4 separate regions of the Homo sapiens genome follow, and regions 1, 2 and 3 are each linked to region 4. Evidence: promoter capture Hi-C in human tissues and cell types (Jung and others, 2019). All regions are on one chromosome and are shown on one strand. The core of a region is centred on a gene start or on the middle of the fragment in contact, and the rest is flanking DNA. Distances in the headings are between cores, read along the strand shown. Region 1 has its middle 38 kb from the start of GPR180. Region 2 overlaps GPR180 (G protein-coupled receptor 180). Region 3 has its middle 49 kb from the start of LINC00391. Region 4 holds the start of DCT (dopachrome tautomerase).

Evidence for each region. The method cuts DNA at HindIII sites, captures the fragments that hold promoters and counts their contacts. A contact is called where the count stands out against the background at its distance.
Region 1: a fragment that was not itself captured here is called in contact with the fragment with the promoter of DCT in region 4 in 2 of the 25 tissues and cell types used here (mesenchymal stem cells and spleen).
Region 2: a fragment that was not itself captured here is called in contact with the fragment with the promoter of DCT in region 4 in 5 of the 25 tissues and cell types used here (dorsolateral prefrontal cortex, lymphoblastoid cells, mesenchymal stem cells and 2 more).
Region 3: a fragment that was not itself captured here is called in contact with the fragment with the promoter of DCT in region 4 in 2 of the 25 tissues and cell types used here (dorsolateral prefrontal cortex and lymphoblastoid cells).

The regions. Positions count from the first base shown.
Region 1 is chr13:94,636,388-94,643,733 of GRCh38, reverse strand. No RefSeq gene overlaps it. Among named protein-coding and RNA genes, the nearest start is that of GPR180, 38 kb to the right of the region's middle. The HindIII fragment of the contact is 7,470 bases long and covers 1,581-7,346 here.
Region 2 is chr13:94,614,395-94,620,916 of GRCh38, reverse strand. It overlaps GPR180 (G protein-coupled receptor 180), which reads right to left. Exons shown (of 9, transcript NM_180989.6): 4 at 1,587-1,767; 5 at 1,400-1,449. Among named protein-coding and RNA genes, the nearest start is that of GPR180, 16 kb to the right of the region's middle. The HindIII fragment of the contact is 4,111 bases long and covers 2,863-6,522 here.
Region 3 is chr13:94,655,778-94,663,006 of GRCh38, reverse strand. No RefSeq gene overlaps it. Among named protein-coding and RNA genes, the nearest start is that of LINC00391, 49 kb to the left of the region's middle. RefSeq lists enhancers at 1-1,409, 1,738-2,239. The HindIII fragment of the contact is 4,944 bases long and covers 1-3,936 here.
Region 4 is chr13:94,473,727-94,480,943 of GRCh38, reverse strand. It overlaps DCT (dopachrome tautomerase), which reads left to right and starts at 1,262. Exons shown (of 8, transcript NM_001922.5): 1 at 1,262-1,983. The coding sequence starts at 1,689. The HindIII fragment of the contact is 3,749 bases long and covers 1-2,189 here.

The DNA of each region.
Region 1 (7,346 bases), core at 4,066-6,565, 160 kb before region 4:
AAAGTACTCTTCTATGCACTTGTAAAAAAATGACTAGAAAAGAAAAAATAAAAAAATAAAAATAGGCCAGGCGCGGTGGCTCACACCTGTAATCCCAGTACTTTGGGAGGCTGAGGTGGGCAGATCACCTGAGGTCAGGAGTTCAGGGCCAGCCTGACCAACATGGTGAAACCCTGTCTCTATTAAAAATAAAAAGTTAGCCAGGTGTGGTGGTGCATGCGTGTAATAATACCAGCTACTTGGGAGGCTGAGGCAGGAGAATCACTTGAACCTGGGAGGCGGAGGTTGTAGTGAGCTGAGATTCCACCATTGCACTCCAGCTTGGGCAACAAGAGCAAAACTCCATCTCAAAATAAATAAATAAATAAATAGATGATAATCTTTGATTTTTAAATATTAAAATTCTTTTACAATTTTTCTTATTACAAAGAGTAAAACATGATCTTTGTAGAGTATTTGGAAAATGAAGAAAAGGATAAATAAGAAAATCTAAATTCCACCACCCTGAGATAATCATCAAGATTTGGTTGCATTTTTTCAGTTCTTATATAATACTATATATAGTAGCACAAAGTTGGAATTGGAGAGTATTGGCATATATGAAGTTTTCATTTTTTTTTAACTTAACATTTATTTTATCATGGCAATTTGTACATCAGCATTCTTCAAAAATGTCTTTGCAGGGTGGATTGGAACAATTTGGAAAAAGAAAATGTTGGATCCCTACCTGACCCTTTACACAGCGGTTCTTGAGTCTGGTTGTACATCTCAAGTCACTTGCAGAAATTCAGAAACAATACAGTGACCACACCCCACCCTCAGAGATTCTCGACAAATTAGTCTGGGATGGAATCTAGGCATGAATATTTTTTTTCTCATGTGATTCTAATGCATAGCCTGGATAAGAACTATTGTTTTATATAAAAATAAATTCCAAGTAGATTAAAGATTGATTGTAACAATTGAAGCCATGGCATTAGTGTATACAGATGCCAGTGAAGATGGAATCTTGGGTACTGAAGAAAACCAAACGCAGGAACCCCAGAGGAAAATATTCACATACTTGATTATATGAAAGCTTTAAATTTCTGTATGCCAAAACAATCATATAAAAAACTGAAAAGCAAATCACAAAGCAGGAAAAATATTTTCAATATGCATTGTAGGCACAGTTCTTAGCAAGTGTAAAGAAAAAGATGAAGAACTAACAGAAAAGGCCAAGCATACGCAAATAACCCAGAAAAAAGTCATTATATATAAGGAGATAAAAAGCATTTCCTTTTCAAATAAAAAATAAGCTGATCTTCACTTCAGAATCTATTCCTCCTTTTCTGACTCCTCCTCCGCCACCACCTCCGCCCCCACCACTTATAACCCAGAGGCTGTACAGTAGTGTTTACATTCCTGCCCAGAAGCTCCCTAAAAAAAAAAAATCAAACTCAAGGCAGATATATTAAAACTAAAACATGAATATATAAAGAAGAAAGTCACACTGGACGCATAAAGATCTCATAAAACCAGAGGCAAAGGAACGTAGCATCATGTTATTACTGCCTGAGTCCAGCTTTGCACAGGTTCAACTTGCAATAAAAGGAAGTCTTTTCAATCTGCTCTAGTGACTTTACCCTTATTAGAATGCATACTCATTATTTTCTGATTACTCCTCTACATAAAACATATCATTTTGTACCTTGGTTTCCACACCCCTAGTATGGTATTTATATTTTATCTCTAAAGATTGTAATAAATCACTTCAAACACAATAACCCATTTAAGAATGGATTTCATAGGCAACAAGGTGCACCTTTAGTGATGTGATTGCAATCATCAGATGCTCCAATTCTCCTGAAGCATGTATTATACAGTGTGTACACAAATGCTGCAGCAGTGTAGAAGAGGCTATTACAGGCTGAGTGAGTCAACTCAACTCAGTATGTACTTCCTAGTTTCAGGATGTATCCATAGGAACCCTTTGAAATGTTTTGTTTTATTAATTTGGCTCCTTTCTAGTTTTCACTAGAGCCAATGTTTTCGAGATAATGCAGTTTAGACATGTCACAGCTGTTGAAATTCAGCATAAGCTTGAGCTGACAGTGGTGTATCATCAAGAATCAGAAAAACTAAAACAACATTATGATAAAGAGGAGAAGTATGAAAAATACGGAGAAGACAAAGGGCAGGAAATATTGCCTTACCGACTTAAAGCAGAGCCCTGGAGGGAAACATCTGGTTTGGAGCAAACAGTGATTCTTTTAGCACACTGAAGAGTTCTCACTGGATAGAGTGAGGAGTGGCTGGATCTGAGAGAGGGGTTCCTGGAAGCTGAAGAGCTGGCAGGAAATGTTGCTCTCTAGAAGGGAATTCATATTTTAAAAGGTGAAAGACCTATGACCTTAAAATCTAGATAGAAGCCATAATCTGTAATTTTTGCTATGTGTTTAAAACCCAACCTTCCTCTGCCAGGAATGTTTTCCATCTTGAATTCTCAGGTTAACTCTATGAACCACTCTACATTCTTTGAAGAACAATCAAAGATAGAATTCACAGGGATTTAAAAGCCTTGTTAGTTTGGAAATATTAAAATTTAACAACTACCAGGTATCATTTATTTCCACAAAAGCTGCTGTCTTTACAAAATGAAATAAAACATAGTCTACTAATTTGACGAGGAACATAAGTTAGATCAATCTGTGGTGTACCCAGAAAGAAACCACTTTGCACTGAAACAATCTGTCTCTTACTTACCCTGGCCCCCTCGCCAAAAAAAAAAAAAAAAAAAAAAAAAGCCTTTTACAAACATTGACTTCTGAGTAAGTCTTAAAAACTAATCTTCTGAAAGATCTATAAGGCTCACAGGCTAGGCAAGAGATTTAAAAGTTTATTTTGTGTGGGAGTAAGTTGGAATGCAGTCATGTGTGAATTAGAATCTTGAACATATCCCAAACACACCTAACTTTCTGTTCTAACCACATATGTATGATTATTTAAAACAAACATTTCATCTCATGCACATTTAAATATTATCTCCACGAACAGACAGATTAGGAAGAACATCAGGCTCGCTGAAAATTTTACACAAAACCTTCAGGTCTATAAACAATGAGCATTGCACTGAGTGGGAACAAGCACCATACATAATCTTTACAACAATTCCATGAGCTCCTAATATCAGAACTCATCTCTCAGATCTGGCCACTTCTCACTCTATCTTGTAGGACCTTTTCCTGTACTAAAAGAATGACTGTTTGCTCTGAAACAGATTACAAATAAGAAAATTGTTGAAAAATGGCACAGCCAAGATTTGAATTCAGGTCTGTCTTGCCACAAAGGCCATGCTCTTTTCCAGTATATCATAATACCTTCTAATTGTGAAAGGTTTCAACATCTTTTATACCTAACCAGCCATATTTTACAGCACCTAGTGGCAATAAATCTGAAATATAAGTGATGTATAAAGCAAAAATTCAAACAGTACAACTTGCCAGGTGTGGTGGCTCACGCCTGTAATCCCAGCACTTCGGGAGGCTGAGGTGGGTGGATCACTTGAGGTCGAGAATTTGAGACCAGCCTGGCCAACATGGTGAAACCCCGTCTCTACTAAAACTACAAAAATTAGCAGGGCGTGGTGGCGGGAGCCTATAATCCCAGCTACTCGGGAGGCTGAAGCAGGAGAATTGCTTGAAACCGGGAGGCAGAAGTTGCAGTGAGCTGAGATTGTGCCGCTGCACTCCAGCCTGGGCAACGGAGCAAGACTGTCTCAAAAAAAAAAAAAAAAACAAAAAAAAAAGAGCTGATTTTAAATAGACTTTTCAAAGCAAACAGATATGACTCGAGAGTGAATCTGAATGTTCTCATTCTTCATACTGCTAGAGATTATACCATATTAAGTATCCGGATTTTTTTTTTTTTTTTGAAACGGAGTCTTGCTCTGCCGCCCAGGCAGGAGTGCAGTGGCATGATCACGGCTCACTGCAACCTCTGCCTCCTGGGTTCGAGTGATTTTCCTGCCTCAGCCTCCCCAGTAACTGGAATTACAGCCACATGCCACCATGCCCAGCTAATTTTTGTATTTTTAGTAGAGACGGGGTTTCACCATGTTGGCCAGGCTGGTTTTGAACCCCTGACATCAAGTGATCCACCCGCCTCGGCCTCCCAAAGTGCTGGGATTACAGGTGAGAGCCAGCGTGTCTGGCCGTTTTTTTAAAAAAATCTCATCAGTTTGGGATGATAAAACTTTCCAAAATGTATTGAATGATGGTTCTACATCAGGAAATCTATTACTGCTGCTCACCATGTTGATAGAACAAAAGAGAATAATTATATCATCATATTCTTGGATGATGAAAAGGCATTAAACAACATTCATTTTTTATTTTATTTAAAAAAATCATGAGTGAACTCCCATTCACAATTGCTTCAAAGAGAATAAAATACCTAGGAATCCAACTTACAAGGGATGTGAAGGACCTCTTCAAGGAGAACTACAAACCACTGCTGAACAAAATAAAAGAGGACACAAACAAATGGAAGAATATTCCATGTTCATGGATAGGAAGAATCAATATTGGGAAAATGGCCATACTGCCCAAGGTAATTTATAGATTCAATGCCATCCCCATCAAGCTACCAATGACTTTCTTCACAGAATTGGAAAAAACTACTTTAAAGTTCATATGGAACCAAAAAAGAGCCCACAATGCCAAGACAATCCTAAGCCAAAAGAACAAAGCTGGAGGCATCATGCTACCTGACTTCAAACTATACTACAAGGCTACAGTAACCAAAACAGCATGGTACTGGTACCAAAACAGAGATATAGACCAATGGAACAGAACAGAGGCCTCAGAAATAATACCACACATCTACAACCATCTGATCTTTGACAAACCTGACAAAAACAAGAAATGGGGAAAGGATTCCCTATTTAATAAATGGTGCTGGGAAAACTGGCTAGCCATATGTAGAAAGCTGAAACTGGATCCCTACCTTACACCTTATACAAAAATTAATTCAAGATGGATTAAAGACTTAAATGTAAGACCTAAAACCATAAAAACCCTAAAAGAAAACCTAGGCAATACCATTCAGGACATAGGCATGGGCAAGGACTTCATGTCTAAAACACCAAAAGCAATGGCAACAAAAGCCAAAATTGACAAATGGGATCTAATTAAACTAAAGAGCTTCTGAGAGCAAAAGAAACTACCATCAGAGTGAACAGGCAACCTATAGAATGGGAGAACATTTTTGCAATCTACCATCTGACAAAGGACTAATATCCAGAATCTACAAAGAACTTAAACAAATTTACAAGAAAAAATAAAACAACCCCATCAAAAAGTGGGCAAAGGATATGAACAGACACTTCTCAAAAGGACATTTATGCAGCGAAAAGCCACATGAAAAAATGCTCATCATCACTGGCCATCAGAGAAATGCAAACCAAAACCACAATGAGACTCCATCTCACACCATTTAGAATGGTGATCATTAAAAAGTCAGGAAACAACAGGTGCTGGAGAGGATGTGGAGAAATAGGAACACTTTTACACCGTTGGTGGGACTGTAAACTAGTTCAACCATTGTGGAAGACAGTGTGGCGAATCCTCAAGGATCTAGAACTAGAAATACCATTTGACCCAGCCATCCCATTACTGGGTATATGCCCAAAGGATTATAAATCATGCTGATATAAAGACACATGCACACATGTTTATTACAGCACTATTCACAATAGCAAAGACTTGGAACCAACCCAAATGTCCATCAATGATAGATTGGATTAAGAAAATGTGGCACATATACACCATGGAATACTATGCAGCCATAAAAAAGGATGAGTTTGTGTCCTTCATAGGGACATGGATGAAGCTGGAAACCATCATTCTCAGCAAACTGCCTCAAGGACAGAAAACCAAACACCGCATGTTCTCACTCATAGGTGGAAATTGAACAATGAGAACACTTGGACACAGAAAGGGGAACATCACACACCGAGACCTGTCGTGAGGTAGGGGGAGGGGAGAGGGATAGCATTAGGAGATATATCTAATGTAAATGACGAGTTAATGGGTGCAGCACACCAACATGGCACATGTACACATATGTAACAAACCCGCACACTGTGCACATGTACCCTAGAACTTAAAGTACAATTAAAAAAATCATGATACAGTAAAATTGACTTCTTTAATATACAATTCTTTGAATTTTAACATACATCTAGACTGAGATAACCACTACACAGTCAAGATAAAGAAGAGTTCCATCACCTCCCTCAAAACTCCTTGGTGTTACCCCTTTGTAATCATACCCTGTCCTTACCTGTAATTCCTGGCAACCACTGATGTTTTCCCCATTACTGTAGCTTTGTCTATATGAGAATGCCATCTAAGTTGAATCATACAATAACATGTAACTTTTTAAGACTAGCTTCTTTCATCCAACATAAGGCCTTTGATTCTCATACAAGTTGTGTGAATCAAGTTTCCTTTTATTACTAATAATATTCCTTTGTAGGGATACATCATACTTTATCAATTCAGGACATCTGGGTCGTTGTTTTTTATAATTATGAATGGAGCTGCTATAAACAGTATGCACAGGTTTTTGTATGAGCCATTCATTTCTCTAGGGTTAATACCAAGGAGTGGAATTGCTGGGTCATATGGTAATTTAACTTTATAAGAAACTGCAAAACTGTTTTTCAGAATGGCTCTCCTATTTTGCATTCCCACAAGCAATGTAGGAGAGTTCCAGCTGCTCCACATCCTTTCCAGGACTTGGTAATTTCAGTATTTTTATTTTAGCTATTTTAATAGATGTGTAGTAGTATCTCTCCAACCTTTTAATTTGCATTTCCCTAATGACTAATTATAGTGAACATCTTCTCATGTGTTAATTTGCTAGCTGTATATTTATTCTTTGGTGAAATGTCTGTTCAAGATTTTGGCTCATTTTTTAATTGGGTTGCTTTCTCACTGTAGAGTTTTAAGAGTTTTTAATACATTCTTTATATGGAATCCTTTATTAAACTTTATCATATTTACAAATATTCTCCCAGACTATTGCCTGTCTATTCATTCTCTTGACAGTGTCTTTTGCAGAACAAAAGTTTTTCATTTTGAAATCAAATTTGCCATTTTTTATCTTCTGTGGATTATGTTTTAGGTGTCTAAGAATTCTTTGCATAACCTCATCATAAAGATTTTCTCCTGTGTTCTAAAAGTTTTCTAGTTTTATGTTTTACATTTAGATCTATGATTCCTTTTAATATTTGTATGAGGTGTGATATGATTTGGCTGTGTCCCCACCAAAATCTCATCTTGAATTGTAGCTCCCATAAT
Region 2 (6,522 bases), core at 3,669-6,168, 140 kb before region 4:
ATTCTAAAGATTTAAAAATTGCCATAAATTTTGTAATATATTTATTAAAATAGTTAAAACAGCAGCAATACTATTTAAAAATACATATATATGCCCATACCATATGTCCATTAAGTCCAACCTTAACTCTTTTCGTTTCCCATTTTTCTTAGCTTTTCTAACTACATAATCCTGTTCTCTATAACTCACTGCTTATTAAAGCAAATTCTAAATACGATTTCTGCAATATGGAGAATACTAGTACCTTCATTTCTGGGTGAATTTTTTTTGATGGCTGAACTATAATGTGAAGAGTATTTTCTAAAACTATTAACAAGAAACAATACAATGAAATGCATAGCTCCCATAACATCCAAACATTGGCTTTACTTTCAGAATCCTGAAGACAAATGAGAAGCTCCATGCATTAGTGTGATGTGCCACCAGGTGGCCATCACCTACACTGCAGGGGAAGCCTGCTACTTCAAACAGAAAAGATGTATCAAAACCACCTGTATCCAGGTTAACACTACAAGAAAACAACAGAAATCTATAAATGCTTCAAGTTTCATATATATATTTATTTTATGAGGTAGCATTTAATGATTTTTAAGAAAACTTATCACTTTTCTTCACAGCATATTTTGATGTGAGTTTTAGGCTTTGGGTCAGAAATAGAAAAGAGTCAGTTATAACAGAGAGTGGAATTATAATAGGAAGAAAAACTTCAGCTTTGAGGTAAGAAAATTTAGGTCTGAGTCTAGTCTCTACCACTCAATAGCTGACTGACATGTGGAAGTATGTTTCACATCACTGAGCCCAGATCCTTTATCTGCAAAATAAGGATATGCAGACCCCTTTTCTATTGAGGATAAGATGAGAGAATGTATATAAATATACCTAAAAACAATGAAAAGGCAGAGTGTGGAGACTCATGCCTGTAATTCCAGGACTTTGGGAGGCCAGGGTGGGTGGATCCCTCAAGCCCAAGAGTATAAGGCCAGCCTGGGCAACATAGTGAGACCCCATCTACAGAAAAGGAAATTTAAAAATCAGCCAGGCATGATGGTATGTGCCTGTAATCCCAGCTACTGGGAAGGCCTGAGGCAGGAGGATCACCTGAGCCTAGGAGTTTGAGGCTGCAGTGAGCCGTGACTGTGCCACTGCACTCCAGCCTGGGCTACGGAGTAAGAACCCTGTCTCAAACAAACAAACAAAAAAACAACGAGGAGCTGTACACATTACCTATTATTAAGAAGAAACTAAGTAAGACATATGGGAACTTAAACTGTAATCCTGTTCTCAGTCAAGCTGATTTCTAAACAATTTTCGACAGAAAATTTATACTATGACAAGAAATAAAAAAAAAGCAGATAGCGAGTGTAAAAGCTTTTTAAAAAATGCTCAGAAAGATACTCACATTCTGCCAAACTTCCCATAAATGGTACCCCTATTCCATCTTTGGAGTAACTGAGGAATTGAAGAAGAGTAGTGTAAATTACAAATGTGAAAAAAATTGTTTATAATCAAAGCAAGCATAATTTTGGTGGACTAATTAGGATTAATTAGATGTAATGATGAACACAGTTTTAGTGGTTTTGAGTTACCTGGAGAAATGAATGTAATTAGCTAAAGCTGAACCAGCTTGTAACAGCAATGCAGTTGTCAGAACCTTTAAAATCATGTGCATGGGTCCGCCTTTCTTAATAGCCTGCCACAATGATTGAGCATAAATGCAAGCAATCACAAAGTACACTAGGACTAGGAGGAAAAAGAACTCATGTAACCCTGTGAAGAGAAGAAAGGGAGTTTGCTTCAGTAAAACAAAGCCAGTTATCGTATTGGGCTGCTTTCAAATCTCCCTGTCAATATATTTCTAGAACTTGTTTTTTAACTGGAGTCATAGCATTCACCTTTGTAAGAGAAAAAAAATTATTAAAACTTAAACAATTTTGTACCTTGGGGCAAAATTTTAACTACAAGAAAGCAGATTAAACCAAACTAGTTAAGGTCAATCTGTAAGAAAGCATAATGGTCAGGGGAACCCAAAGACTCATCATAAAATCACAGTTTTGTTTGAAAACAGTAAATGAAAATAATGATTTCAGCATTCAGTTAGATATACATTTTACCCCCAAAGTGAATTTCTTTTGTAAAAAGTTTAGAAATAGATTACCTCAGTCAATAACAGTTTAATATGCCCTGACAATGCATCTCAAAGTGTGTTCTCTTGCCCAGCAGCATCACCAGGGAATTTGTTATAAACGCAAATTCTTGAGTGCCATCCAGTTTTTGATCTATTGAATCAGAAACTCTGAGTAGAGCCCAGTAATCTGTGCTTTAGTAAGCCCTAAGCATGATTCTGATATAGCTAACACATGAGGACCACAGCTCTGGAATGTCCCAATACCTTGAATTTCCATTTGGACAAACCTTCAAAATATCTGTCATGTCCAGAGATATCTTCTGAGATAAACTGTCTGCAGCTCTTGCCAAAAAAAAAAAAAAAAAAAAAAATCCTGTGCTGATCATGCGACTCCATGCCAGGATTGGCTGAAAATTGTCTAACACCTAACCAAATGGCTACCAATGCAAGGGGCCAACAACGTAACAATTCTGAAAGCTAAGTTAGGCTAATCATCTTCTCTTAGTAGATCAAACTATAAAGCAGAAAGGAAAGAGGCCATAGAAATTGAAGTTGAAAGGAGCTGATGTTGGGACAGGCCAGACGAATCAAACTGAGCCATGATAAAAACCAAAGTTTTGAGGGAGTAGAAATTACAAGTGAGGAAAGACAGATGGCTGGCAAAGAACAAAGAATGTGCAGACTTTGTATTAAAAATGGAACCAGTCATTAGAGCAGCCTCTAGTGCCTACTAGCAGCTTTTTAGTACAGTCTTCATGTAACCTTATTATGTCACTTTTTCTGTGTTCACGTGCAATCTTTTGACTGAGTCTCCATTTTTCAGAAATTTCAGAAAATTTTTATAATAAAGCAGCAGGCTAGCTTTCAGTTTAACAGCTAACATTTACTTGCTTACATGTCAAGACAGTCCCTAATATTAAGGCTTTTACATTCTATCTAACACCAGACTGCTCTAACAGTGGTGTGAATAGAGCTGTCTTAATTGAGTCTATGGATGAACTTTCATTCCAATAGCGAACACCAAGCCTGCTCTAGTTTCCCATTCGGGTAAACTCCAATTAACAGTCAGAGAAGAAAATATTTCTATTATGTGGAAAATAATTTTGTAAAAGCAATCAGAAGACACAAATTATAAGAATCAATAAATAGCTCAATCAGGCTTTTGGCCTCGTTAGGGGGAAAAAAGCAGCAAAAAGTATTTCTGCCACTGGGTGTCTCTCCTGCTCTATGAATATAAATGTGGACAGTTAACTTTTCTAGTGCAGGTGAAAAAGCATGTTTAGACTTCAGGAAGGGAAAAGAAAGAACATATTTTCTTTTTAAACACCTTACATAGAAAAGCATTCCAGCCTTAGAAATAATGGCAACATAATCCTGGGATTATTATAGTACCGGAACAAGACAGAAAATAAAAATGCTAAATATATTATAACAACTGTGGGTCAGTAAAGTTCCTTATGCTATCCTGTGTTTTGAATCTTAGTTTTTATCTTTCCTTCTTAGTATTAAAAAATTAAACATGGCATTCAATTTAAAGTTTTATTTATTTATAATATTTTACAGAATATCTTTAAAGTTTCTGACTTACAGGATAAAGTTTCTGACTCCATGAAGTTACAACTCTACCATGAAAAGAAAATCCTCAGGTTATTTACTGAGGAATGAGAATAATATAGAAGGAAGGGACTCTGGAAAATAAGATATATGTCACCAGCAAAAAATGTCTTAGGATTATTCAAAGTTAATAATCTTCCAGAAAAAGCTAACATTATAACGAACACAAAAATTATTTCATTGACATAACATATTAAACAAATTGAACTGGGTCTGTCCCACACTTTATTCACTGAATTTTAGATGATTCTTCCCTTAAAACTGTACATAAAATGCTTAAAAGATAAAATGCTAGCTCTGCACTCAGTGTTCTTTTAAACAAATCATCTCTTTAAAAAAGTCTGTTTTCTTCCTCTCTTCAGCTACCAATTTTTTGTTTTGCCACAAGCAAAAATTGTTTGTTCACTTTGAAATTAAACTCAATTTGTGTTCACTTTGTTCACTTTGAAATTAAAATCTAATTTTAAAACAGGTGGATACTAATTGTTAAATCTTATTATACTTAAGACTTAATAATACACATGAAAAAAGTATACACTGAAGAAGAAAAATACTCTTAATGAGCATACAACAGGTGGTGAACACTTGTAAGGAAATGTGTAAGGTTTAAGGCAAGCTTAAAGGAAGCAGCATTGGCAAAATAAAGTAGCAAGAAAACTTAGAGGCCAGCTTCAATAAATTTAGCCCCAGCTAAATGATGGTAAATGAGAAAGGAGGAGAGCCTAAGGGGAAAGGGTCCTTGGGTTCTGGGGCAGCACCTGGAACAGACATTCCCGCCTCCCCATGATCCTTGTCTCAGAGCCCCAGTGGTCTCCCACACTCACGTGTCTCAAGATATATCCTGATTAGTCTAAATCAATCAGAAATTCCCATACTCTTACCAGTAGGAGGTAAACCTAACCCTTTTGACATATTTGTCTACTTTTATCTTCTTTCTTTCATGTCAACTTACATTTCTCTTATGATGCTATGACCCAGTTCTGAAAAAGGAAATGTGATAGGAAGCTTCTGGGAAAGACTTCCTTCCTCCTAAAAAGTGATACTGAATATTGCAATCATCTAGACATGATGCTCAGAACTGCCACAGCTAACTTTGAACTTGAGGCAGCTAGCTTAAGAACAACACTGATAGTCTGAGGATAGCAGGGTAGAGAGATGCTAAATAAACCACCCTGGAGAAGCCGCAAAACTTCTTGTTATGTAAGATAATTCATTTCATTACAGTCTACACCACTTGCATTAGGGTTTTCTGTTACTTTAAGCCAAAAACATTCCAACATGTTACCAGCAACACATTACTGAAGCTAAATGGAAGATCCAACCCATTGTCTTTTGGGACATGGAGGAAAAAAGGGATAACACTAAAGAATGAACATAGCTGCTAGAATTTTAAAAACAGTGAGATGGCAGATGTGGCAGAGCCTGTAGTATTATTCCAGTGAAAACCAGTCTATATGCGCCTTTAGGTAATAACACTCTCAGGATTCTGGGTACTTCTTGGTCTCTAATTAGAGTACAAATACAGTTAACAAGGATTCTAATCTTTTAAAGAAGCAGTTTTATTTCATTGTACCTTAAAATATTATAATCCTATTTAGTACTTTGTCAATCGGCATCACACTTGCCTGACTTTGTTTAATCTAGACCAACTCTGTAAAATAGAGGATTAACCAAAGTCTGGTAGATATAAAATACATAATTGGTTTGAAAGAAAACAAATTATGAAATTTAACCAGAATAACCTGTAACATTAATTGCAACTATCTGCACCAGGTTACTCTAATTCAAACCTCTGAGACATGTGGTAATAGTCAATTTTCTGTAAAAAGCATAGCAAATCAATTTTTCCTACTTGTAGCAGATAATTAGGCAAACTAGCAGAAGTTTCTAAAATGAATTGAACATTTTCCCTGTAAACAAATTCCATACCTGAGGCTACAAAGTAGGAAGAATCCCTCTTAAGGCTGTATTTTAAAACACATTACTAAAACAATGTGAAATATGGACTTTTAGATCAGCGGTTCTGTACATAAGAATCAACTTTAGAGCTTTAACTGGCTTCCACTCCAAACCAAATCTATCTGAGTCTCTGGGTGTGAATATCTGAATTTTTGTTTTAACCCTCATAACCTTAAACCAGATGCATACAGTGATGGGTTAAGAACCACTCATTGATACTTCAATGTAGAGTTATTCACAAAAGCTTTTAAGCATTTTAATCAATAAAATGATGTGATGTTTAGAGGAAGCCACATAACAAGGCTGGACGCTTTTGGATACTTCTGGCACTTTCTAATGATTAATCCCCGAAGGTAAGCCTTGCATAGAATGTCATGCTTAATGAAAATACATACGATTATAGTGAGGTTTTGCCCCTTGTTTAAACATTGTTGCTGACATACTCAATGTAACTTCCCCATTGTAGTATAAGAAAGACAGCTTTTAGACACAAGAGTAAGCATAAAATCAAAATCAGTCACAAAAATCAGGAAAAGGTAGGTCAGAAGGAGACAAAACTAAGAACTGAATCATAACGGTTAGTATGCATCATAAAGAAAAGCTAGCCACAACTCAAGATGTTGAGGAAAACACTGGAAGACATAGGCAAGGTTCAGGACAAGGCAAGGTATGACTGGGATTCAGAGGTCCAAGCATGGCACAGGGCACAAATGTGATCACTTTATAGCCTGGGATAAAAGTTTACATGCCAAATTGGTGATGAAGAAAAAGACCAAAAATGGAAGCCTGGATAAGGAGGCAAGTAAAAGCATATCAGGATCCAG
Region 3 (7,229 bases), core at 215-2,714, 180 kb before region 4:
TATAATCCCTTTGACAATCCTGTTGACTATGAGCTATAGCAATAGGAGTACAACACAGAAAAAAAGATACATTGTGGGATAAACAGCTTCTTATAAGGTAAAACTGAATGGCCAAAATAGATTAATAAGGAGACACAATGGAGAGAAAAAAAGAAATGAGTCAGTGGCAATATAAGAAAAAGGTAAAAGTGAACAGAGGACAGAAAGGCAGGAAAGAAAAAAAAATGTAAATGAGTGAGACAAAAAAACCAAAAGACGAAAAAGAAAAAGAGAACAAGAGGGGGAAAGAAGTAATATTTTTTTTGATAAAAATGCACAAAAGGGAAGATGAACTTTGTTCTTTTTCTCTTTCTACTCTCCTCTCTTTTTCTGCTTTTCGCCTCGCAGCACGCCAGCCTAAGCTGAGAGCTGTAATGTCATTAAATTGCAAATGCTTTTTCATTTCCGACACACACTGTTTACTTATCTGGCAAAAACATATGTTGGAAGGAATCCGTTAAATTCTGCCCATTGCCTTGGGTAAAAGTGCAATGGAAACGGCCTCACCGAGCGTCCTCTTTCTTCTTCTTTAGCACTCCCCTTATCTACAAGACGGCTTCGCAGAAAACTGGCTAGTTCAATGAAAAATGAAGATACAGCGGGAGATTAGGGAAGAACACTGAGCACAAAATTCCTGGAGAGAGGGTCACTCCATTGCAAATGATTTCACTCCTCTAGATCTGCATAAATTACTATTTTTAAGGCATCTCCAAAGTCTGTATATTTTTCTCACTCTGTCAAACATTTAATTTCACGCCCCGTGTTCTGAATATGCTAAAATGCATATCTCTGATGCACCTTTAAGCCAGAAAAACGAATGCAAAATTGAAGATAAAATGATGTGATTTGCACTACAAGCCTATTACTTGAGGTATTTACATATAGTTTACCTCTGCAGTTCTGAGGATGATTTATTTAAAAAAATCTGGATTAAGCTCATATAAATATGTATAAATCTTTGTTTAGAAAATAGATTTTGCAGCTGTTGTGTCAAAAAAGTTCTTTAAGATTCTGTGAAGAATTTTCCTTTTAGCACGCTTTAAGAGGGGAAAAAAGGGGGACAGAATTTGACATTCTGCTTGGCGGGGAGAAAAAAGCCTATTCCACCATTCGGCAGTTATAAAGATTCCTTTTATTGCCCTTCTTTGCCCAAAGCAGCTGGTTCCTCCTTGCTCTTTTATTATACTCATTTCATTTTCTTTTTCCCCCGCTTTTTGCTTGGGACCAAATAATAGTGTCCTGGATTACAAAGCTCAAATTAAATATCAGTGTTTAATGACTGAAACAATCATGAGTTTCTGAGATGTGCCCCCAGTTCCTGCTCTCCTTTTTCCAAACAGGCTGCCTTCTGCTGCTTCCCACACACAGCCTCTGCACTGACACGGAGCCTTGGAACTGCTGAGGGAGCCGACTTCTAGCTACTGATTTGAAAATGATTATTAACGTAGGGCAAGCAAGATATCTGATCCGCTGGAGAAGCAATTCTAAAAACACTGGAGTTTTGTTTAAACAATCTCCACATGTGCATTTCAGCCCCCCTCTCATTTTTTTTTAAATCTAGAGTTTTGCCTCTTTGTCTGAAAAAAAAAAAAAATGCTTCATTTAGTCCGGCCTCTCACATCCTCCCTGATCCCCATCCCTCTGCGATTATTATGGGGGAATTACTCTTTGCTATTTTCTTGTTAGGCTTTGGGTTTAGGAGAATTTAGATAACAAAGTTGGCTAATTCAGGACTGAACACACATTGGACTCTGCAAATATACCACCCGCTACATGATAAGGGCAGGGCCCAGCTTCTGGGCTGCACCTGCTGTGATGCTGTGGGAACAGCTGCTTCTGGAAGCAGGTAGTGGGAACAGCTATTACTTCAAAGCCCACAATAATCCTTTCGCAATTAAAACAAGAAAGGGATGTTTACAGGCATTTGATCGCTTTAGGTGGAGATATGAGTTTGCTTACAAAGATTGAATTCCAGTTCTGGTGTGCTGTGCCTGCTTAAAGTTGACTAATGACGACTTAAAATAATGAAACTGCAGTCATTTTCAAAAGTTAAGTCATTCTTTTTGCACAAAATGGCTTAACGATCCCCCCTAGTGGCCTGACTCTTGTTACTATGATTTGTGAATACTCTCCTTTCCAAAACTGCCCTATTGGTTTGTTTATAGGTTCATAGCAAAGAAACTGCAGATAAAACCAAAGTCAGATCATTTAGAATTGAACTGAGCTTCCACTAAATTCCTCCTTTTTTGCTCCTAGACAGTGGCTATTGCTCTTAGAGCAATCAGACTAAAGATTCCCACAGAGCCAGCTTTATATCTTGAGGGTTTTCTTAAAACTGATGAATAAACTCAGGTTTCCCACGTTCACACTTCCATTGCTGAAATCAGTGAATAGCAGGGTGTAATGCACTCTATCTTTTCAATATTGCTGGTGGTAGATTTGAGTTTCTGAAGGGAAAATGAGTAAATCATAGAAATGTTCTATGTCTTGTTTTCAGGTAGGTTTGGCCCAAACTGGATTATTTCAATCCTTTGGGATAGAATTATCTTTAAATGATTGAAAAACCCTATATGTTTTTCAAGTGTAACCTCCAAGAAAATGCCTGGTCATCATTGCCACGCCAGTGTTTAATCCTTTTTCTTCACTCTGCATACAAAGGGTGGGCCATCCATTTACTTCAGTGTTTACAGGTGAGATGAACTCTCTTCTGCTTCCTTCAAGGCCCCTGTGGACACCCAAGGGAGGCTGTAACTGAGCTGAAGCCATCTGAATATTTTAAGCTCAGAACATGGAGACAGGGAGAGATTTCCAAACCCGAAGGCTAACTTCTTTTCCTTTGACCACGTTGCCAGTCACATTCCTCTTCTGGAGTATGTAGTTTTGGAATCTAGCACTTCCATTCATCATGGAAGGGGCTATACAGTTTTCCCCCTTAATAGCTCACATGGAAACACTATCAAGATTTCTTACATTACTGGAATATTAAAGAATATTAGATATGTACTAAATGTGCATCTACAAAAAATAGTGCAAAATAATCCTAAAGCCCTAAATCCTGACCTGCAAGAAGCTTATGTTAGAAAAAAGTAACATCAAAATGAATCCATTGCCAACCTCTGCACTTCAGCCTTGAAAACTTCCAGACCTTTCAGTCCTGTTTTCTTCCACATATTTAGACTATTTCCTTCAAAATCACTTGGATATGACTTCATTTCCTTCCTTTCAGTTTCTGCAATCTCCATCCTGGTCCACAAAATCATCATTTCTTGCTACAAATATCTCTAGGAGCCCTAGTACCTACTTTTATTTATGGATTAATTAATCTTAAACCCAGTGGCAAGAAATTTTTCCCTAACCATGCAACTTTCCTTCTTAGAAATCTGCTCTAGTTCCCAATTACATAATCATGAAACTTAATCTCCTTAGCTTTTAGGATCCCTAAAATGACCAGCCTTTTCAATCAATCAGTTAGTAATGTAATTGTCATTTCCTCTATCTGCTAGCTTTCCTTTCCCACCCTAGTTAGTTAAACCTGTTTGTACTTCCTTGAACCACCACTTGGGATTTTGCACATACTCAGACCTCTCCTGCGTAGGCAGATCAACCCTGAAGCTAACAAATCTTAAGCTTCAGGGCCTTGCTTGCACCAGCTAAGACCTTATGCCTAACTTTGCATTTGTTTTCTTAAGGAGGACCCTTATATAAATTGTATAAGCTTCACTTCCCACAAAATCAAGATCCACTCCAGGCTTTCTCCTTTATTATTTCACCTAGGTGTGGACATCTACTCAGTTCAGAATGTTCTTAGGATATACACACATGCCTGTTCATTCTCTCTCTCTCTCTCTCTCTCTGAACTATGTATTGCACTTGTGTCTGTTATCAGTTTTAGGAGCCTGAGGGTTTTCCTCCCTCCAATTGTGCTATCTTTCCCATTAGATGATATCATAAGCCATTCTAAAGTAGGGACTATTTCTTATTTATATTCTGTAAGAGTACTGAGTACCAGAATATAAGAGCATTGGTTTAATATTTTAACATATTGAACAAACATGTTTACCAACTGCTTCTTGAGGAAGCTTGAAAATGGTTTACTTATAAGTGTCTATTTTAAAAATTATTAGAGGCTAAACCTATAATTTCACAATAGCAAGATCATTCAAATAGAAATCAAAACAAACATTCATAGAACATGTTCATTGCTGTATCTTTAACCCTAGCATGGGCGGGTAATAAATACTTTTTGAGGCCACATGCAGTGGTTTATACCTGTTATTCCAGCGTTTTGGGAGGCTGAGGTGGGAAGATTGCTCGAGCCCAAGAGTTTGAGACATGCCTGGCCAACAAGGTGAAACCCCATCCCCACTAAAAAAAAAATACAAAAATTAGCAGGGCCTGGTGGCAGGCACCTGTAATCCCAGCTACTTGGGAGGCTGAGGCAGGAGAATCGCTTGAACCTGGGAGGTGGAGGTTGCAGTGAGCCCAGATCACACCACTGCACTCCAGCCTGGGCAATAGAGCGAGACTTCATCTTGAAAAACAACCAACCAAACAAACAAACAAATAAACTTTTTGAATAAATTATACATAAGTCAGGACTTGGAGTGAGAACAGAGAGACTTTCTCATTGGTTTATGTAACTGAAAAGCCAGAGGCTTTCACTGGCTCCCGGCACAGCTGGATCCAGAAATCAGTCTCTTCCCCCATTTGGTGCTTCTTTCTTCTGCATTGAATTCACCCTCAGGCAGGTCTACTTCATGCAGTTGCATGATGACCTTCAGCACCTCTAAGCATCCTATTGGTTCAGAAGCCACAGAATAAAAAATCAAAACAAAACTTTCCCAAAATTTCCAACAAAAGTTGCAAAATTGAGTCTCACTGGGCTGACCTTAGGCACAACCTAAGTCATGTGTCCCTGCTGACCTGTGCTTAGAATAGACATGCAACTTTGGGGATGGGGAGGGGAGTGAACCTCATTGAGACTATGGATTGAGAGAGTGGTTAGAGGTGATTCTCTAGAGGGAAATTGAGATGCTGCTTCCAAAAGAAGGGAACAGATGCTGGGTAGGCAAAAATGGCCATACCTGCCTCCTGGCCCTCACGTAGCTTTTGATCTAGTTGGAGAGGAAAAGACAAACGCCTGAAAAACTAAATAACAATATAAATAGATACGTAATAGATATGTAAGTAGTATTGCACAGCAAACAAATGGTGCACTCACATGTGTGAGTAGGAATGAGATCATCCTGAAGAAGTCCTTAAAAACGAATTCTAAAAAGCACCTATATAAAGTATCTTTGTCATTCTAGGCCACTTCCATTTCTTTACAGAAAAAAATGACGAATACTTAAAAAGAAACAAAAATTTCTATAAATTGATGGTTGGGGTATAATTTGGTAGAACCACTGTAGAAAATAGTTGGGGATTACCTCGTAAGGTTGAATATATGTGTCGTCTGTGACCCAGTGGCCCCACCCGTCAGTGTATGTCTTAGAGAATTGCTTTCATAAGTGTACAAGAATATCCAATGTCTTTATCATCAGCACTGAACATAGTCACAAGCCAGAGGTTGCGCCAGACATGCACAGCTGTGTCATTAGCCACTGTGTTCCATGCATTGGCAACAGCATATACAGCATCCTTCACACTAAACTCCTTTTGAAAACCTTCCACACCCACTTCTTTTCACTGCTTCTAGCATGCTATTCAATAAAGTGTTTTTGTATTTACTCCTCATTCACCTAAGCATACCCTGGTTTCATGGCTGAATTAATGCAGTCACATATGGGGGAAAGTACATGGCATAGACATTATTTCTGAGAATTTCAGCTGGAGAATGAGATTATTTGTCAAGGAACAACAAAATCTTGCAGTCACCATCCAGTCCAGCCTCCCTGCGGTGAGCACAAGCTACTGGCAAAAAATGTTTGTGAAACCAAAAAGAAAAAAAAAAAAAAAAGTCCCTGGTGACTCATACCTTTCTGTAAGCATACTAATGGACTGGTAAGAAATTCACTCCTTGAAAACAGCAAGGATGCAAGTATTTTACTATTACAGCAAGTTTACATTTATGCATGCCTGCTGCATTAACACATCCCAGCACATTTGTTCTGTCCTTGGCCTTCTTAATCCTGTAAGGGCTGTCTCATCAGCTGTAGTCAGTGTCTTTCTGGGGCAATAAAATTGAAACAGTGATGTTTCATCAGCATTACAGACTTGTTCAGCATCAGGTTTTCATCAGTGATGACCTTGGCAAACTCATCAATGAATTTCTTATTTTTATTTATTATTGTTTTTTAATTTATTATTTATTTTTATTTATTTCTCACTTTGTCATCCAGGCTGGAGTACAGTGGCATGAATACAGCTCACTGCAGCCTCAGCCCTCTGGGTTCAAGTGATCCTCCCAACACAGCCTTCCAGTTAGCTAAGAAGATGAGTGCCTGCCACCATGCCCAGCTGATTTCTTAAAATTATTTTTTGTAGAGACAGGTTCTTGCCATGTTGCCTAGGCTGGCCTCGAACTCCTAGGCTCAAGCAATCTTCCCACCTTGGCCTCCCAAAGTTCTGGAATTACAGGCATAAACCACAATGCCCAGCCCATGCATCAGGGAATATCTTTGCTGCTTCATCAGCAGCAGATGCTTTATCACCACAAATATTTAAATGTTTAATGCTGTGTCTTTTCTTATATCTGCAACCAGCCTATTGAATATTCACAAATCCCTTCAATTTTCAGTTCATCATGATAGATATTTGCTTGTTTCATGATCAGCATACCAATAAGTGGCATGTGTCCACCATAATGCAGACAGATCCACACTTTCAATACACCATCAAGATCTTCATTTTTAGTTTTAGGCAGTTTCTCTATTTTTCAATTTCTGTTCATCATTTTCAACACAGAACTTCAACAGTTCATCCTTCTGTTTCTTCAGGTCCTATATAGTGGTCACTCCAATATCATACTCTCCTGTAAGATGCTTCTCACTTACACAGCTGTCCAGTTTCTCCAACATCTTGACTGTCTATGCTACAGATAAACATAAATGCTTTTTCTTATCACTGTTACCCAGAGGGATTCTGCAGGCCTTTTTTTTTTTTTAGCACTTTCAACAATATCTTTACACTGTAGAACACAGAATAAGTTAAAAAAACAGGCCAGGCATGGTGGCTCACATCTGTAATCC
Region 4 (7,217 bases), core at 13-2,512:
TCAGAACAGTGAGAAAATAGATTTCTGTTGTTTTCAGTCATCCAGTTTGTGGTCATTTGTTACAGAAGCCTCAGGAAACTATTGCACATGGTCTCTTTTAGCTGATGCTGATGCAATATTTCCTTTGGAGCTCTGCTGTATTCTGATTCAGTGATTCTCAACTCTGGCTGAGCATTAGAATTGCCTAGATGTTTTCTAACAAAGGTTGGTTGGTGTCTGGAACATCCTCAGAGATTCTGATTCAGTAGGGCTGTGGTACAGGCTGATATTGGTGTAGAGTCAGACATAAGAATTGCCATTTAATTAGTCACAACAACTTAACATCAAGGGGTGGCACAGAGGTACAGGGGGTGGGAATACCTATATAATTGTTTCACCTTAGGAATTTGCTTTGAAACATAACAATATGTGTCTTTACATTCAAGTATATTCTTAGAAACTAGCTGAAGCCGTTTCGCATCCTTGTGGCACTAAGTCCTGTTTCCACTGTGAAACAGTTACCAAGACAGTCCTGTTTCCACTGTGAAAAAATAAATGGATGTTCTGACAGGTGGCCACCATTGCTGACCTGACCATTCTCCAGAAGCACCAGGAGGCATTGCTTTCTAGACTGAAGCTCAGTCATGCTTCACTTTAGTCTAATCAAAAAGATTTGCTTGCAAGCCTTCATTCCAAATGGTTCCAGTGCCTTCCATACAATCAGATAATGACAATTGTGAGTTTCTGGTGGCATGCTACTTCATGTAATTAAAAAAAAATTGCTGCGTAGATGTGCTGAATAGGAGAAGAGTAAGTTATTATTTGGAGGGAAGAGGATTCCCAATTGTGGAACAAAGCAATTCCTTGTACCCTGGTTCTACATAAATGTTTCTTTATTTTTGAAGTTGCATGACCCCCTGTTGTGGTCTTTTTTGCACACATGTCAGAAAGCAGCCATGAGTGCATTGTAGTTGGCAATGTGAGCTTCTGTGTAAAGGGTCTTTGACGAAGAGCTCACTGCATCTACTGACTCCCCAGGATGTCTGAGGTCACAAGTTTGGCTGGAGCACATGAGCCCAGATAAAGAAGATGGTTTTGCCCTCCTGAAATAAAGCCAGAAGTGATCTCCTTTATTGTGCACTTTGGGTCATGTGCTAATGATGAGGGTTTCTGTAATACTAATCCCCCTAATGAAGGCTTCTCCCAGCCCTTACACAAGCCCCCAAGGCCCCGTGGCTTGGCAAGCCAGAGAGAATAAAAGCAGCACGGTGTTTGGCTTTTGAACTGAGTTCAAGGCAATTAAAGTCAAGAGCTAAGGAGGGAGGGAGAGGGTTTAGAAATACCAGCATAATAAGTAGTATGACTGGGTGCTCTGTAAATTAACTCAATTAGACAAAGCCTGACTTAACGGGGGAAGATGGTGAGAAGCGCTACCCTCATTAAATTTGGTTGTTAGAGGCGCTTCTAAGGAAATTAAGTCTGTTAGTTGTTTGAATCACATAAAATTGTGTGTGCACGTTCATGTACACATGTGCACACATGTAACCTCTGTGATTCTTGTGGGTATTTTTTTAAGAAGAAAGGAATAGAAAGCAAAGAAAAATAAAAAATACTGAAAAGAAAAGACTGAAAGAGTAGAAGATAAGGAGAAAAGTACGACAGAGACAAGGAAAGTAAGAGAGAGAGAGAGCTCTCCCAATTATAAAGCCATGAGCCCCCTTTGGTGGGGGTTTCTGCTCAGTTGCTTGGGCTGCAAAATCCTGCCAGGAGCCCAGGGTCAGTTCCCCCGAGTCTGCATGACGGTGGACAGCCTAGTGAACAAGGAGTGCTGCCCACGCCTGGGTGCAGAGTCGGCCAATGTCTGTGGCTCTCAGCAAGGCCGGGGGCAGTGCACAGAGGTGCGAGCCGACACAAGGCCCTGGAGTGGTCCCTACATCCTACGAAACCAGGATGACCGTGAGCTGTGGCCAAGAAAATTCTTCCACCGGACCTGCAAGTGCACAGGTGAGGCCCATGCTCCAAGCTTGGTGGGGAGGGCCAGAGCTGGGGAAAGAGCTCCTTCTAAGGAAGAGATGAGACTCTTGACAGAGACTCTTAGATTAGGCTTTGAAAGGCAAACCAATGATGGTTTTGGTCGGAAGCATATTCAATAAGGCTGATGTGCTGGTTTATTCTTCACACCCTCTAGTACATCTAGTTATGAAGACTAAATAAATATGGCGTGGGCCAAGCCTGCTTATATGAATGCATGCCAACATACTATTGGCTTGTTTGTTGGAAGGGGAATTTAAGAGCTTAAAAGCGTCAGCTTTGAAACTCGGAGCAAGTCCTTTCAAGATGGATTCGGTGCCCTCTCCTGAAATGGGTTTGCACTTGTTGAAAAGGGATGGGTGAAGCTTGGCATTCGGAAGACAGGAGTCAAAGGCAGGTGTTCTGGTCTCAGCATTTCTCATGATTTGAACAGATCTCTCTCTCTCTCTTTTTTTTGGAGATGGAGTCTCGCTTTGTCACCGTGGCTGGAGTGCAATGGTGCTATCTCAGCTCACTGCAACCTCCATCTCCCGGGTTCAAGTGATTCTCCTGCCTCAGCCTCCCAAGTAGCTGGGATTACAGGCACCCGCCATCATGCCTGGCTAATTTTTGTATTTCGAGACGGGGTTTCACCATGTTGGCCAAGCTGGTCCCGAACTCCTGACCTCAGCAGGGTGCATGTTTCTCATTAAAGCTTATGACCAGGTTGTAACTTTGACAAAATTGTCGAGACGTGGCAAGACAGAGCTTTCTCGAGGAGCTGGGGGTGGGGGGGGCGGGCGGGGGGTTGTTATTAGATAACAATGGCTTTTTGTCACTCTTCTCTGGACTTGAACCGGACATCACAAAATTTGCTCAGTGTCCTTCCTTTAGACTCTGGTCTCTCTCATTACCTGTTGCTTTGACATCTCTGTGCATTTCTCATTCCTCTAGCTCTTTGGGGCTTTTTCAAATCCTCTTCAATCTTTCCCACCTCCAGTTTCCAGCAGCCATATGCCCTTCGGGAATAAACACTCAAAGCCTGGCAGGGGGCCACTGAAATACAAAAAACACAAGTGGCAACCTCAGGAAAGCCCTTGGACACTGTTGTAGGCTGGGTGGTTGCAGAAGACTTTTTCCTTTTAAAAATACTTTTTACTTCTCTTCTCATAGGATGCTGGAACATAGGAGGATATAGGTCATTGAGCTTCATAAGGGGTTGAATAGGTATTACTAAGGGAACATACAAAGGCCTGTGATGTTGGTGTAGGAATGACATTCGATTTTTTTTTTTAATTTTAACTTTCAACTTTATTTTAGATCCTGGGGATACAAGTGCAGGTTTGTGACATAGATATATTGCACAGTGCTAGGGTTTGAGATATGATTGATCCTGTCACCCAGGTAGTGTGCGAAGCACCCAGTGGGTAGTTTTTCAACCTTTGACCCCTCCCTCCCTCCCCTCTCTAGCAGTCCCCAGTGCCTATTGTTGCCATCTTTATGTCCATGAGTGCCCAGACATTAGATTTCTTTTTTCACATTAAGAGTTCTGGCTTTAGGCCTGGTGCAGTGGCTCACGCCTGTAATCCCAGCACTTTGGAAGGCTGAAGTGGGTGGGTCACTTTGAGGTCAGGAGTTTGAGACCAGCCTGGCCAACATGGTGAAACCTTGTCTCTACTAAAAATACAAAAATTATCTGGGTGTGGTGGCAGGCACCTGTAATCCCAGCTACTCTGGGGGCTGAGACAGGAGAATCTCTTGAACCCAGGAGGCAGAGGTTGCAGTGAGCAGAAATCACACCACTGCACTCCAGCCTGGGTGACAGAGTGAGATCTGTCTCAAAAAAATAAATAAATAAATAAATAGTTCTGGCTTTATAATCATTTTGTAGTAATATTTTTAATTCTGTCATTCAGAAGAATATCTAGGTCCTGGTTTTGCCCTGGGTATTAATCATGACAAAAATTTCAATAACATATTGGATATATATTATCCAGCTTTTCTAAGTTTTTTAAGCATTTGCTTCTATAGACCTTCTCTCAAAATTATCATGGTGTTTTAGACGAATGAGGAGCAGGTTGCTGGTGTGGTTAGCGTGATTGAAAACCACACTAACACAGTAACTTCTTTGTTCAAAACCCCAAAATACTTCTAGAACAATTATTTCTATGTCAATCAATGAAAAAGTGCTGGCCAAGCGCAGTGGCTCACGCCTTTGGGAGCCAAGCACTTTGGGAGGCCAAGACGGGTCAGGAGTTCAACACCAGCCTAGCCAACATGGTGAAACCCTGTCTCTACTAAAAATACAAAAATTAGCGAGGTGTGGTGATGGGCACCTGTAATCCCAGCTACTTGGGAGGCTGAGACAGGAGAATCACTTGAACCCAGGAGGTGGAGGTTGCAGTGAGCTGAAATCGCGCCACTGCACGCAGCCTGGGCAACAATAGAGTGAGACTGTGTCTCAGAAAAAAAAAAAAAAAAAAAAGAAAGTGCCAACACTTTCAAAAAGTTGTAAATCTGCATTGCATAGAATCCTGAGGCAGAGGACTTTAGGAAGTCACATATAACCATAAACTCTTTTTGTTACCAGCTTCTTCATATTTTTGCCATGGCTAGCAAGTTTTGTTTTGTTTTAGGTAGGGATAGAAAGAATAGAAGGGATCATTGCTATTTCCCTTTGGTAAGGAAATGTTTATAAATATTGCTCTAGAAGTAATAGGAACTTAGGATCATGGAGACCTACCTTCAAAAAAAAAAAAAAAAAAAAAAAAAAAGAGGCTCCCCCTGCTCTAAAAAGCCCTTGGGCCAGAAATAAATAGGGCCTGTTCTTTAAGTCCAGGCTGTAAGGAAGTCCCATGTACATAAGCCAGTCCAAAGAAGCAGGGCTTCCTCCAGGGAGATGGTCTGCCTCTCCAGCCATTGTCAAGGCCCGGCCTGGCCCTGAGGCCCCATCTCCAGGCTGTGGCTCACCTCCCCCCGTGATCTGCTCAGTCCAAACTCATCAGGAACAGAACTCTTTCCACACCTACATTTTTTTAAAGGTAACTTAAGATTTACTGTATCTATAAGTTCAATTTACTAGACTTTTAATGTTTCCCAGTTTTATTGAGGCATAATTGTTACACAGAACACTGCACATAATTAACGTGCACAATATGGTGTTTGGACATACCTATACAGTTGTGTTGCCATTTCCACAATCAAGATAATGAACATATTCATCATCTCCAAAGGTTCCTCGTGGTTCTTTGTTTTTGTTTATTTTTTGCTTTTGTGGTAAGAACAGTTAACATGAGATCTGCCCTCTTAACACATTTTTAAGTGCCGAATGCCTTATTGTTAACTATAGGCACTATATTGTACAGAAAATCTCTGGAACTTGCTCATCTTGTATCATTATAACTTTACAACTCCCTATCGCCCCTCCCCCATCCCCTGGTAACCACAATTCCGTCGTGTACTTCTCTATGTTCAGCTACTTTAGATGCCTCATATAAGAATAATCATGCAGAGTTTGTCCTTCTGAGACTGACTTATTTCACTTAGCACAAATGTCTTCCAGGTCCATCCATGCTGTCGCAAATGGTAGAATTTTTTTCTTTTTAAAGGCTGAATAATATTCCATTGTATTGTCATACCAACTTTGGATGGCTCTACTTATCTTGCTAGATGGTCTTTTTCTTTGAATCTCAGGGCACGAGACTAAGTCCTTAGTGACTGAGCTGGGAAGTTATTTTGTGTATGTCATAATTACCATTCTGTGATGAGCCGTGTGTCCCAAAGCAGGACACATGTCCTTCAATTAATTATTCCCCAAAGAGTAAGTTGCTAGCCTTCCTAGGGTAGCTTTTTTATGGTTTGTGGGGCAATCTTTGGAATTGAAACCTGATCCTGAGCCTCCCAGAGAACATCCTCTACAGTAGCCTGATGACTCTTTTGCGAATGGAGTCACTGGGGCACTCCTGGGATGATCCAAAATTTCTCAAGGAAGAGATGTAGATTAGTGTCTTGTAACAGACTATTGATGACCCCAAATGTTGTTAATTCTTTGGAAAATAAACACCTCATAGTTTCCATAATCATGAAGCTGGTAAAGTAATTTCAGCCTAATAAGTAGAAACACATAGAAATTCTGGGATTTGTTTTTTAAAACTCTAAATTCTATGGTGAAATTCTCTGTAGAGAGCTTCTCTATAGTCTCTGTAGGGATAAATTGAAACAAAAAAGCCACTGAGCTTAATTGTCAGGAAGAGCTGAATTGCAGGAGACTTTGAATTTGCTATTCACCTTATAAGGCTTACCTGCCAGTTGGCTTTATGAGAATATGCCATTTGCAGCTATGTCTTTTGGCTTCTGAAAAACTTGCGCACCAAATAGTTTTTGAACAGTTGACGGTGAACTTCTTGTTTGTACAAGTGACTAATTGCCTCCATTTTCCAATCTCTGAAATGGGGATAATGATGAAACCACACTTGTAAAATCCTTTTGATTTCTGTAGATGAAAGGACCTATGTAAGTATAAAGTATTGTTATTAAAATAATAGAATCTCTAATTAAAAGGAATAGGCTATTTAGAGTTCCTTGTAAATTCACTAATCGGTGGTCTTTAAGCTTATTTAGTCTAATGGCTTTCTGAGGTTGAGCTGATGCAGTTCATGTAGGAATGTGTGGTGTTTAGATGATCTCACTCTTTTTTCCATTTTTATCATAGTCCTTTGTAAACATGAGACTTTGACTCTTTAAATTTAATTTTCACTGAAGGACATACTCAATGGTCGATAGATTGATATTATCTAGGAATCATTTTTTTTCCTCTCTCCATTTCCCAGTAAGATAACACGGTTCTTTCTAAAACACTTCTCTTCTTATATTTTTTGCATTGGTAGATTAAGAAGAAAAAACTAAATCATGTTAAATTGATGGAAGATGCTATTAGGAAAACTAAATTAAAGAAATAAACATTTTGTCTGCTAGGCTTTCATGTTGTTACACTTTTCAGTCATCTCCAGCATTTCAACAAATTCTTCAGGTCAGGTCTATAAACTTAGAAATGAAAGGGACCTGACTGCAGAGCTTTGGAATAATTTCTCTGAGACATCTTGGAAAAGGAATTTTTTAATTGAATAAATTTCTGGGTCATAAATGGGCTCCAAAACAGACACAAGCTTTCTTTACCCCCCCACTTCCCATTCTTTTCACAGATGTTGAAAGCTTTCTTATTAGAACTT